3 separate regions of the Homo sapiens genome follow, and all the other regions are linked to region 2. The links are contacts of gene promoters, found by promoter capture Hi-C in human tissues and cell types (Jung and others, 2019). All regions are on one chromosome and are shown on one strand. Each heading gives the region's core, a stretch centred on a gene start or on the middle of the fragment in contact. The rest is flanking DNA. Distances are from core to core; before and after follow the strand shown. Region 1 holds the start of SLC7A10 (solute carrier family 7 member 10). Region 2 holds the start of LSM14A (LSM14A mRNA processing body assembly factor). Region 3 overlaps ZNF302 (zinc finger protein 302).

What was found. The method cuts DNA at HindIII sites, captures the fragments that hold promoters and counts their contacts. A contact is called where the count stands out against the background at its distance.
Region 1: a contact is called between the fragment with the promoter of SLC7A10 here and the fragment with the promoter of LSM14A in region 2, in 1 of the 25 tissues and cell types used here (mesenchymal stem cells).
Region 3: a contact is called between a fragment that was not itself captured here and the fragment with the promoter of LSM14A in region 2, in 1 of the 25 tissues and cell types used here (hippocampus).

What each region holds. Positions count from the first base shown.
Region 1 is chr19:33,223,836-33,227,868 of GRCh38, reverse strand. SLC7A10 (solute carrier family 7 member 10) reads left to right here and starts at 2,019. Exons shown (of 11, transcript NM_019849.3): 1 at 2,019-2,316. The coding sequence starts at 2,166. The HindIII fragment of the contact is 48,714 bases long and covers 1-4,033 here.
Region 2 is chr19:34,170,999-34,174,689 of GRCh38, reverse strand. LSM14A (LSM14A mRNA processing body assembly factor) reads right to left here and starts at 2,186. Exons shown (of 10, transcript NM_015578.4): 1 at 1,927-2,186. The coding sequence starts at 2,047. The HindIII fragment of the contact is 14,704 bases long and covers 1-3,691 here.
Region 3 is chr19:34,683,838-34,687,639 of GRCh38, reverse strand. It overlaps ZNF302 (zinc finger protein 302), which reads right to left. Exons shown (of 5, transcript NM_001289187.2): 5 at 1,244-3,388. The coding sequence ends at 2,403. Among named protein-coding and RNA genes, the nearest start is that of ZNF302, 8.1 kb to the right of the region's middle. The HindIII fragment of the contact is 3,944 bases long and covers 271-3,802 here.

The DNA of each region.
Region 1 (4,033 bases), core at 770-3,269, 950 kb after region 2:
TTCTCTTCTGTTTCTATTTGCTAAGAGTTGTTTGTTTACATCACGGATGACTGTTTTTTGCATCTGTTGAGGTTTTCCTTTTTTCTCTCTATTAATGTGGAGAATCATGCTGATTGGTTTTTGGATGGTAAACCAATCCTACTAACCTTTTGTTCCCATTGAAATTTGCAGGTTCTAGTTCAATTCCACGAAAAGGACCTCCTGAGCTATGGGGCCTGGCTGACAACATACAAACTCCATCCTGTGCAAAGCCCTAGGCCGACCTTTCCCCCACAAACGCATACTCCACATTCCAGGTCCCAGAGAGACACCCTCGAAAACCACAGGCTTCAGAGCTGCGAGGCTTGCGCCAGCCCCTGCCCCTTGGCAAGCTGCCCCTGATTGCACCAGCCCTGGCTAGACCCTCTCCCAGCAGACCCTAGAATTGCGAGGGCAACTGGGGGGCTGGGGAGAGTCAAACCAGAAGGTCGAGGCCTCTGGCCCCTAACACCCGCGACAATCAGGGGTCTCCGGAGCCAGGGCTGCCCCTACCCTGCGCGAGGCTCCTTTAAGAGAGTCGGCCTCTGAATGGTCTCTGGGGCTGGAGGTGGAGGGCGCCAAGAATGCCGGTCTCCGACGACAGAAGCGAGAGGGATGCAGCTTCGCCGGGTGGCCTCCCCCTCGGCGTCCCACCAGCACGTCCACCCTGGATCCTCCCGCTCCTACTCCTACCCCAAGTCCCCGCCCCCAACTTCGAAGCTCCTGTGTGCCTGCAAACGCCGGCCCCGCCCCGCTCCCACCTCCAGGCCCTGCCGCTGCCAGGGACCCGCCCCTGCCAGGGACCCGCCCCCGCCCCGTCCCACCCCGGTCCACCCTGCAGCCGTCGGACCCCTGGCAGGGCCCCAGCAAACCCGGAGGCCGCCACTGGGGGGAAGGACGGGGCGCCCGGCGAGGCCTCATCCACATGCAGGGGACGGCGCGTCGCGGCGGCCGCCAGGAAGAAACAAAGGCTGTTCCGCCGCCGGCCGCACAGTGCCAGGCTCGCCCCGCCCGCCGCCCCGGTGGCCCCGACGCGGCCCCCCTGGATCTTTTCCGCCGGCCTCGGCTGCACAGTCCGGACGGCTTCCGGGAGGAGGCAGCCTCCCTCGGATCCCCGCACTCCCGACCCTCTCCCGCGACCACAGCCTCCTTCTCCGTGTCTCCCGGGCATTCCAGGTCGCCTGGCCTTCTTGAGCCGGGCTGGATCGCGCGGGACCTGCACCAGAGACCCGAGTTCTAGTCCGCTGAGCCCTCACTCTGACCTGGGACGAGGAGCCTGTAGTGAAGATCTCAGGCCAGAGGTGGCCCAGAGCCTGGTAGGGTGGGCGAGCCGTGTCCAGGACTCGTCACAGGTCTTGGGTCCCCGTGATGAGGATGAGAGCCCCCGGGATCTTCACCTCGACCCTCAGGCCTTTGATCCAGGGTGCATAGGACACCCAGACCCCTCAGAGGAGTTCCAGACCTCAACCCCCACCCCTCCTGAGGTTGTCCGCCTGGGAGCCTCAGGAGGCACGAGAAAGGGTTTGGTCTCAGCCCTGCACTTGCTCGGCGATCGCTACTGATCTCTGGGCTTCAACTTCCACCTGTAGAATGGACTCACCCTGGGAGCTGTCTCCTACACACACACACACACACACACACACACACACACACACACACACATCGTGCAGGCATAGAGTACTAAAGGGAGCACACACTGCATCCCCACACGCGGCCAGCTGTTATTCTTGCCGTCCCCCTCGGCCTCCCTGAGAGCAGGGATTGTCTTGTCTCGGAGCTCTGCTCCCCAACCCGGCCCCAAGAATGGATGTAACTCAGGCAACTGGAGGGTCCCTTCCTTCGCCCAACTGGGAAGTCCTTCCTAGATCTGCCCCAAGTCCTCTCCTTCCTTCCCAGGCCGGGACTGGGGGAGGGGGCGTTCCCTTTAAGGGAGGTGGGGGAGGGGGCTGTGGGCCGGCCCTCCTTCCGCCCCTCCCGGGCCCCCGCCGCCCGGGGCCCCCAGTCCCGGGCCCGGAGCCAGCGCATGCGCCCGCCTGTGGGCGCTGTCCCGGCTGCGAGGGCCGTGAGCTCACGGACCGACGGACCGACGGGCGGCCGGCCGGACAGACGGGGCAGCGCAGGGAGCGGGGACGCGGCGGGACAGCGACATGGCCGGCCACACGCAGCAGCCGAGCGGGCGCGGGAACCCCAGGCCTGCGCCCTCGCCCTCCCCAGTCCCAGGGACCGTCCCCGGCGCCTCGGAGCGGGTGGCGCTCAAGAAGGAGATCGGGCTGCTGAGCGCCTGCACCATCATCATCGGTGAGCGGGACCCAGGCGGGCGGGCGCCGGGCGGAGGCCGAATGAGGGGCGCAGCCGCTCCGAACGAGGGGCGTCCCCTCTCCGGGCGCTCGGACGGGTCTGCCTGGGGAACCTGCAGTCTGGCCTCAGAGAGCGCTATGACCGCGGGGAGGTCAGGGGCTGCTGGCCCAGGGTGCCAAAGCTCCGTGTTCCCACCTCCCGGCCGCCTGCACCTGGGGGAGTTTTGGGTCCCCTCCACCGCTGGACTCTTCCTCCTGACTCGATTTTGCTGCGGGGCTTTTGCAAGGCAGTTACCCTCAGTTTCCTCATCTGTGAAATGGCCATGACTGCAGTCCTGCGATTAGCGCAGGAACTTGACCAGTGTAGGGGCTGGTCAGGCTGCGGCAGGCTGAGCTCCCCAAGTTCTGTACTGTGGGTCAGTCTGAGTACCTACTGTGTGCAGGGTCCAGGTGCCACGCAGTGCAGTGACTTTATTCTTGGAAAGCAGGAGGGCCTATGAGCAGAGTGAGCAAGCGCAGCCTGCGCAGAAGGGACGGAGGTTCAGAGCAGGCAATGACTGCAGGGTTTGGCAGCAGGACCCAGGAGAGGGGGCGGGTTAGCCAGCAATTGGGGGCAGCAGTGGGCAGACCCAGCCTGCAGAAGGCCAGCTGCTCCCTGAGCTGGGATCCTGGTGGGCACTGGACACTCGCCTGGTCTGGAGGCCCTGGACTCCAAAGTCCCCACCTGAGAATGGGTCCATGTCCTGCCCCCACATAGGGGTTTCTGGGCAGGCAGAGAGCTCAGAGGTCATGGGAATGGCAGTGGTATTTTTCCACTCTCTGTCCCAAGTCATGGATACTGACTTGTTTCTTTGTCTACACAGAGTGCCTCTGAGCCCCTCCAGGGAGGGACAGGAGAAGTGGTTTGGGGGGTGAGTGACTGGGGCCTCGACTGTTCTCACCTTACCGCCAGCCAGTCTTCCCGGTCCCCTGCCAGTGAGAGCCACTTGTGTCTTCACTGCCTTCCCACCCTCAGACCCCTGGAGATGGAGAAAGTTTGGGGGCTCAGTAGGGCAGACCCAGGGTCTTCACCTCGTCCTCTCCCACCCCCACATTAGCAGCTCTTCACATCCAGAGTTGCCCCTGAACACAGCCCCTGGCCAGGTCACTCCGCCATCTCACCCCCTCCCCTTAGAATGCTGTCTCCCAGAGCCTGGTCCTGACCTGGCCCTGGGAGCTTCTTGGCCTAGGATGCCCCTGCCTGATGGACGGTCTGCTGGAAGGAAGGGCTGGTTCCAGGGATTTGGCCAGGGTGCTGGTTAGAGCTTTTTCTTGGCCCACACCCTCTCCAGGAACTGTCCTCCAGGGAAGGGGAAGCTCACACCATGAGTGGGTCATAGGATTGAGACCATGCCTAGAACCAGCTACAGTGCCAGGCAGGTGCAGAAAGACACAGCTCTGCCTGGGCTCCTCAGCTAAGCCCAGCATCCTTGACCTGTCTTCCTACTCTATCCCCTCCCCACATCCCATCCTCCCCAGGCCACAGGGAGGCTGCCTGGCTCCTTTCTCCCCAGAAAGGGGCCCTGGTGGTGGTGGTGGTGGTGGTGGTGGTGGTGGTGGTGGTGGTGGTGATGGTAGAGGTGGTGGTGGTGGGAGTGGAGAAGGCCAACTCCACTATCACCCTCCTTTTCCAGGACAGACTCTGTAAGTTTCCCATGCAGCCCAGGTCTGCCCTGACA
Region 2 (3,691 bases), core at 937-3,436:
ACTATACAGCTAAGTAACTATTGTATAAAAAATATAAAAATAAATTCAAAATAAGGCCAAGCAAAAACTAAGTTACTTAAGAAGCATCACTGGGAAAGTCTTTAATAAACACCAAATACCATCCATCATACATCCTATAGCCGATTTCTAACCGCCAAGTCTACAGGTGTTTTAATGAGGTAATGTGTCACTGCATAATGTTTCACAAGGTGAAGAGGGAAATGTGGGGGTACTCCCTGGTTTTTCATACTACTTTTAAAATTAGACTTGGTGATTTTAAAAAGTGTATAATTCAATGATCTTCAGCAAATTTGCAGAGTTGTGCAACTATCACCATCTCATACTACTCCTTTATGGTGTACAGTTCTGTAACATCAAAAGGTTCCCTACCCAGGTATAAGATTTGTCCCAACACCAGGGCTATTAAAAAGATTTACCAGAGGCTGGGCGCGGTGGCTCATGCCTGTAATCCCAGCACTTTGGGTGGCCGAGGCGGGTGGATCACCTGAGGTCAGGAGTTCGAGACCAGCCTGGCCAACATGGTGAAACCCCGTCTCTACTAAAAATACCAAATTAGCTAGGGGTGGTGGCAGGCGCCTATAATCCCAGCTACTTGGGAGGCTGAGGCAGGAGAATCACTTGAACCCGGGAGGCGGACGTTGCAGTGAGCCGAAATCATTGCCTTTGCACTCCAGCCTGAGCAAAAAGAGCTAAACTCCATCTTAGAAAAATAAATAAATAAATAAATAAATAAAGGATTTACCAGAGCATCCAAGAAATATTATTAAATACTTGATCCCGTGAAACCACTCCCCTATCTGTTAACGATTTTTAAAATTTTACAGATTTCGAAAATCTTCTTCTTTATCCTTGGACCTAACCTATCCACAGGGTCCCTAACCATGCTATGCAGTTCCCACCTCTACCAGAAGTGCTGGGAAAATCACCTAGGTTATCTAGCTTCCCTCAAAGTATTTTACACTGTTGTGAGATTTCCTTTAAGATTCAGGAGCTAAAGTTTATTTTCTTTCTGGTTTCCTGGCGGAGCAAAGGCCCTGCACGTGTGAACGGAAACAAAACCCACACAGACTCTAGGGATGCCAAATATTAACACTGTGGGTAGGGGCACCTTCCTTCTCGGCCGAATTCCCTTTCCCAGAGAGCCTCCAGAGGGATCAGTCAACGCCCACTGAGCCTGGATCAAAGGTCAAGCTTGCCTGGTCAAGAAGGATCCTGGATCAAGCTTGAACCCGTTTCCAGAAACAGGGGCGTCGGGGCAGCAGCAAGCATTTTTACCACGCGCCCTAATGAGGTGGTTGCACAACAGGCTTTGAGGATTCCGGTTTAACAGGTAAATACCAACAGAGGATGAGCCGAGGGAGATGGGATCTGCTCCACGGCATCGATGGCATTTCGAGAATGTCTGCGTCGCAGAGCAAACCCAAAGTTTTAGCACATTACTCAAGAGTTCACCAGAGGAAGATCGCCACGAATTGAAATGAACAAAGTGAGAAAATGGGTGCTGTGTAGTCAACGCATCCGCGATGAACTCAAGCTGGGCGGAAAAATTCTTTGAATACTCCGGCTTTGTTTTGTGCTAAGACGGCAGAAGCCCCGAATTTCGGAGTTGGAAGACGCGTTTCTCCGTGTTCTCCGGCCCGTTCTCGGACTTCAGGGCCGCCCGCCGCGCACTCAGTCCCGTAGTTCCCCGGGCTTCAGGCGCGGACATTCCGGGGGGCGGAAACCAGGGAGCCGCGGGGAGGCCGCGGTCCGGCCCGCGACGCCGGGGCCCGGAGAAGGGAGGCGAGAGGCCTCCCGGAGCTCGACGGAGGGAGGGGAGGGAACGAGGAGGCCGCGGGCCGGAGCGGGGAGCAGCCCCGAGCGGCGCCCGGCTCGGCCCCCACCCTGAGGCCCGGTCCCGCGTACCTTTGGCAAGGGCTACGGTGGAGTTTTCGGTGTCGATGGTGTAGAGGATGCCCTCGTAGCGGATCTCCGCCTTGGAGATGAGGCTGATCTTGCTGCCGATGTAAGGGGTGCCCCCGCTCATGGCGCCGCCGCCGCCGCTCCCAGCTGCTCGCAGAGAGGCAGATCCCACGCCACTGTCGCCCGCTCCGCACGCCCGCTCGCTCCGTCGGCGCCTACAGCAGCCGCTTCAGACCCAACATGGCGGCGGCGCCGGCTCCGCTACCCTCCCCCAGCCTCCCGCCCTCAAGCCGCGGCGCGGCGGCGGCGGCGGCGGCGGCAGCGGCGGCGGCGCGGGGCATGCTGGGAGGGCGAGGCCGCGCTCTCGCGAGACTTGGCCGGCTACTGGTGGCTCCCGGCTCATTCGTGGCCTCGGGAGTCCCGGCAGCGCTTGTTGGCCTGGACTACGGTGGTGGTCTTGGGGCCGCGTGAGAGGAACTTCGGGGACCGGCTGAGTGCCTCGTGGCACCCGCTTGCTGCGGGCTGGAGAGGAGGCGCGCGGCCTTCCTTTTGACTCAGGCCGTGGCCGCCTTGTCGTGGGTCCTGTGTCTTTGCCGACGCGGGGCCCTCGGCCTGGAGCGCTGCCCACCCGCCTCCGAGCTGTGGCGAGCCGCTGCTCATCCTTCTAAGACGCTGAACCTGCACCTCGTGGAGCTCCTACGGCTCCATTACCGCAGTCATCGCCCGGGGAGCTTCCCCCGAGGCTGCCCCTGGAGCTGGGGCTCTCACAAGGACTCAAGTGTTTCAGCCCCTTCCTGTCCCGCTCATTCAGCCGGTCTGAACCAGTTTCATGGCTTGCAACGCCATTGTAACTCACTAATCCCAATTATCAGTATGTAGCTTGGATCAATTCCGTGAACCAGGGTTTCTGTCGAATCTCAAACGTTAAGGGTCCAAAGCCATGCTCCCTGTTTCCCCTCTAACCTGCTCCTTCACCACCGTTCCCTATTTGATGTAAACGGTACCATTTTTACTCAGCTGCTCAGACTAAAAGCCGTGAGTCAGCCTTGCCCTGTCTTGCTTCCACATCTGTTCTGACTACACCTCTCCGTTATGTATACACAATATATCCTAAATCTGACTTCTCATCTCCATTCCTACACTTCTCCCACAAGCCACGATTACTCGGGCTGAATTATTGCAGTAGCCTTCTAAAAGTTGCCTCTGTGTCAACTCTTGCCCCCAGTACTTTATTCTCAATACAGCAGCCAGAGAGATCTTCTTAAAATCTAACTCAGGGCTGGGCGCAGTGGCTCACGCCTGTACTCCCAGTACTTTGGGGGCCCGAGGCGGGCGCATCACCGGTCAGGAGTTCGAGACCAGCCTGGCCAACATGGTGAAACCCCGTCTCTACTAAAAATATAAAAAAATTAGCCAGGCGTGGTGGCGCGCGCCTATAGTCTCAGCTACTTGGGAGGCTGAGGCAGGAGAATTGCTTGAACCCAGGAGGCGGAGGTTGTGGTGAGCCGAGATTGTGCCACTGCACTCCAGCCTGGGCGACAGAGCGAGACTCCGTCTCAAAAAAAAAAAAAAAAATCTAACTCAGATCATGTCCTTCCTCTACTCACTCTACTGATCCCATGTTACACAGAGAGAAAACCAGACTTTGGTGTCTAAGGATATACATGATTTAGCTTCTCGTTCTGTTCCAGTCGCGTCTAATTCAACCAGTACTTGAGCACTTTATTCCAGTCTCTGCTCAAGCATCACCTCCAGAGATGACGTCCCT
Region 3 (3,802 bases), core at 993-3,492, 510 kb before region 2:
CTCTGACTTTCCAGGCATCGGTGACCTTCAATGACAGGCTGTAACCTCCATTCAGGAAGAGTGAGGGCAGTGGCACCCAGCCCATGGGACTCTGTACTCAGAGATGATGCCAAAGACCTGTAGTCTTCTGGTCTCAGTGGGTAAACCCTCCCCTTTCCTCCATGTGGAAGCCTGATGCCTCCTTCACTCGGCCCATTTTCCAACTCTGTAGGGCATCCTTCTTCCTTCTCAGAGACCTGCTGAATTCTCATCTCATCTCCTATCTGGTCTCTTTGTTTCTCCTTAGGTTATTTTGGGCAAGAAACATTCCCTCAAAATGGCTCAGATACTAAAGGATTTGTTGGAAGGAAACGGGGGTGTTTTGTAAATGCTCTCCCCCAAAAATGTGAAACAGTAAACAGATAAGAGTGGCAAGTGATTAGATGTGACATCTGAGACCAGAATAATGAAGCAACCATGAGAAGACGATGATGATGAAATCAATAGCTATAGCTAATACTTACTGAATGCTATTGAGAGGCCAGGCATTGTTGTAAACATTGTGCATCAATTAACTCATTTAACTTTCATAATAATGCTGTGAAATAGGTTTATTACCATTTTACAGATGGAGAAACTGCAGCATGACCCAGTGAAACAGTTTGTCCAAGGTCACAAAGCCAGTATACATGTAACTTGGATTTAAACCCAGGTAACAAGACTCCAAAGCTTAATGCTCTTCACACACACACATCTCGAAGCTCTTAAGGAGTATGGAGTGTTTCTTAAGTCCACAGAAGATGCTCAAGAAATGGTTAATAGGTAAGATTGAGGAAACAATATGTTGTCAGTGACACCATAACATTATTATTATATTCTGGACAAACAGTGTTAGTGTCCCCTAAGAACGTGTGAAAAATGCAAATTCAAATCAACTCATACAGAAACTCTAGGACTGAGGCTTAGCAATCTGTGCTTTAACACGTCCTTCCAGTGATTTCGACACAGCACTAGAGCTCAGAACTACTAGATTCCTTTATCCCATCCCTGTGTAATACACATGAGTAATGCTCAGTAAATGTTCTTGAAATGTATTTAATTAAGCCTACTGGATATGGACTCAATAATCCTCACCAAAATACTGCTATTCTTAGTATAAAGAGCAGGCCATTCTTCTCGAAGTTTGCTAGTCTCCCGCTAAAGGCTATACTAAGGCTAATCTTAGTGAAATTTTTTTTTGTCGCAAACAGTCACAGAGAAAGAGTTCATGATATACAAAATGATTTTATTAGATGCCAAATTTTTATTAACACCATTTTATTTCTTTTGCAGCTTTAATTTTTAACATTATAACATTTACTGGCTCCTCTGGGTGACTAAATATCTTCACATGCCCACTAGCTAAAAAGAATTTCTAAGTAGAACTCAACTGAAACTGCAAGCTACTGCTCTAAGAAATGCATACTTATGTTTATTTGCTCTCCTATATAATCCTGTTTACAAATAGCATAACTGCAAAGATTTATATGTAATTTCTAAATCCTTCAGGTTGCTCTACCATTCATCTTCTTATGTCTGGCAAGATAAACACTCTTAGTGAACACTTTGCTGCATCTCTTAAATGAGATTTGTCTCCAGTTTATTTCCTATAGAATAAGGGATGCACTTGGAACTGAAAAATTCCTTCAATTTCTAAAGTTTCCACATTCATACAACTTTTCTCCTGTAGGAGTTTGCAGGAGATTCCTATTGCCTATAGTCTTTCCCACATTTGCTACATGTACACAGATTTTTCCTAGTGTGAGTATACTTAGGTCAATTAAGGGATTAATACTGACAAAGGCTTTCCCACATTTATTGACTTCATATGATTTCTCTACAGTATAAACTCTAATAAAAAAATCTGCATCATTGCTAAAAGTCTCCCATGTTCACCACCTTCATACAACTTTTCCCCAGTATACATTTTTCTGATGTTAAATAAGGGAGGATCTATGAATGAAGTTTACCGTGATAAACACTGCTTCTCTTCTGTAAGATTTCTCACATGTATAGGGATTCATATGATCTAAAGGCTTTTCCACACTTACCACACTATTGGGTTTCTCTCCATTATGTACTCTTTGATGGGCAGTAAGATTCGAGCCTTTGCTAAAAGCTTTCCCACACTCACTACATTTATATGGCTTTTCTCCAGTATGAATTCTCTGATGTACAGTAAGGTTTGAACTACAGCTGAAGGTCTTCCCACATTTAATACATTCGTAAGGTTTCTCTCCAGTATGAATACTGTGATGTTGAAGCAGGGACGACCTATGACTAAAGGCTTTCCCACATATACTGCATTCGTAGGGTTTCAATCTAATGTGATTTCTCAAATGCATATTCAGTGATTCAAGCTGGTTGAAGGATTTCCTGCATTTCTAAACTTCAAACGGTTTTTCTTCAGTATGAATACTCTGATGTTGAACAAGAAATGAGAAGCTACTAAAGACCTTGAGACATTTGTTGCATTCATATTTTTTCTTCATACTGTGAATTCTTTGATGTTGAGTAAGGTGTGAGCTACAGCAGAAAGCTTTCCCACATTCTCTACATTCATAAGGCTTCTCTCCAGTATGGCTTTTCTGATGGTGAATGAGAGACGAACTATGAATGAAGGCCTTTCCACATATACGACACTCATAGCGTTTTTCTTGCGTATGAATTCTTAGATGCTGAATGAGAAGGGACACACGACTAAAAGACTTTCCACAGTTCATACATTCATACGGTTTCTCTCCCGTGTGAGTGCTCTGATGGTTAGTAAGTGATGAGCCATGGCTAAAGGCCTTCCCACATTCAATGCATTTGTAAGGTTTCTCTCCACTATGGCTTATCTGATGTCGTGTAAGGGATGAACCATGGCTAAAAGTCTTCCCACATTCACGACATTCATAGGGCTTCTCTCCTGTATGAATTCTCCAGTGGCGACTGAGGATTGACTGTTTGCCAAAGGCTTTCCCACATTCACTGCATGTATAGATTTTCTCTCTATTACAAGTCTGGGGAAGGGTAAGAGATTTGCTCTGGTTGAAGGCTGCCCCACTTTTATTAGAATTTAAAAGTTTCTTTCCACCATTTATTCTCTCACTTTTTATAACTGACTTTTTTGATAAATTCTTCTTTAATATATCATATTTGTGTGAATTCCCTTCAGCAGAATTGTTTTGTGGTTCAGAAAGAGTAGACTTTGAATGAAAGGTGCTTCTAAATGTGTCGCATTCTGTATATTCCAAATTCTTATTAGAATTTGAAAATTCATAACTTTGTTTTACAACTTTTTCCATTGTTACTGGTTGGGGTGAATCTTCATCATAAATATCCTTCTTTGTTGATAATTCCTTGTTTTCCCATCTTGATTCCCAATCTGAAATATATCAAGAAAGCAAAGCACTGCCTTTTTTTTTTTTTTTTTTTTTTTTTTTTTTTTTTTTTTTTTTTTTTTTTACTTCTTGAAAAAAGCTTCTACAGTGGAATTAGGAGAATTGGATAAGAAATGAAGCACCCAGAAAACACATAGTTCTGACAACTCAAATATTTCAGTGACTTCTGAACAATGCTCAAATAGAGCAGAGAATCCAAAGTTCACAGAAGCAGGAACAGAGTGTGATAAAGGAAATGGGTAAGCTGTACGAAATGGATAAAATAGTATGGAAAAAAGGAAAGTATCAGAAATAAGATGTGGAAGGCATTCAGGATTACAAATCATCATTTTGTGCCTATATTCATGTGGGAAAGGTTGCATTTTGTTTCATAGCCTTTTTTTCCAACCTTCCATTAA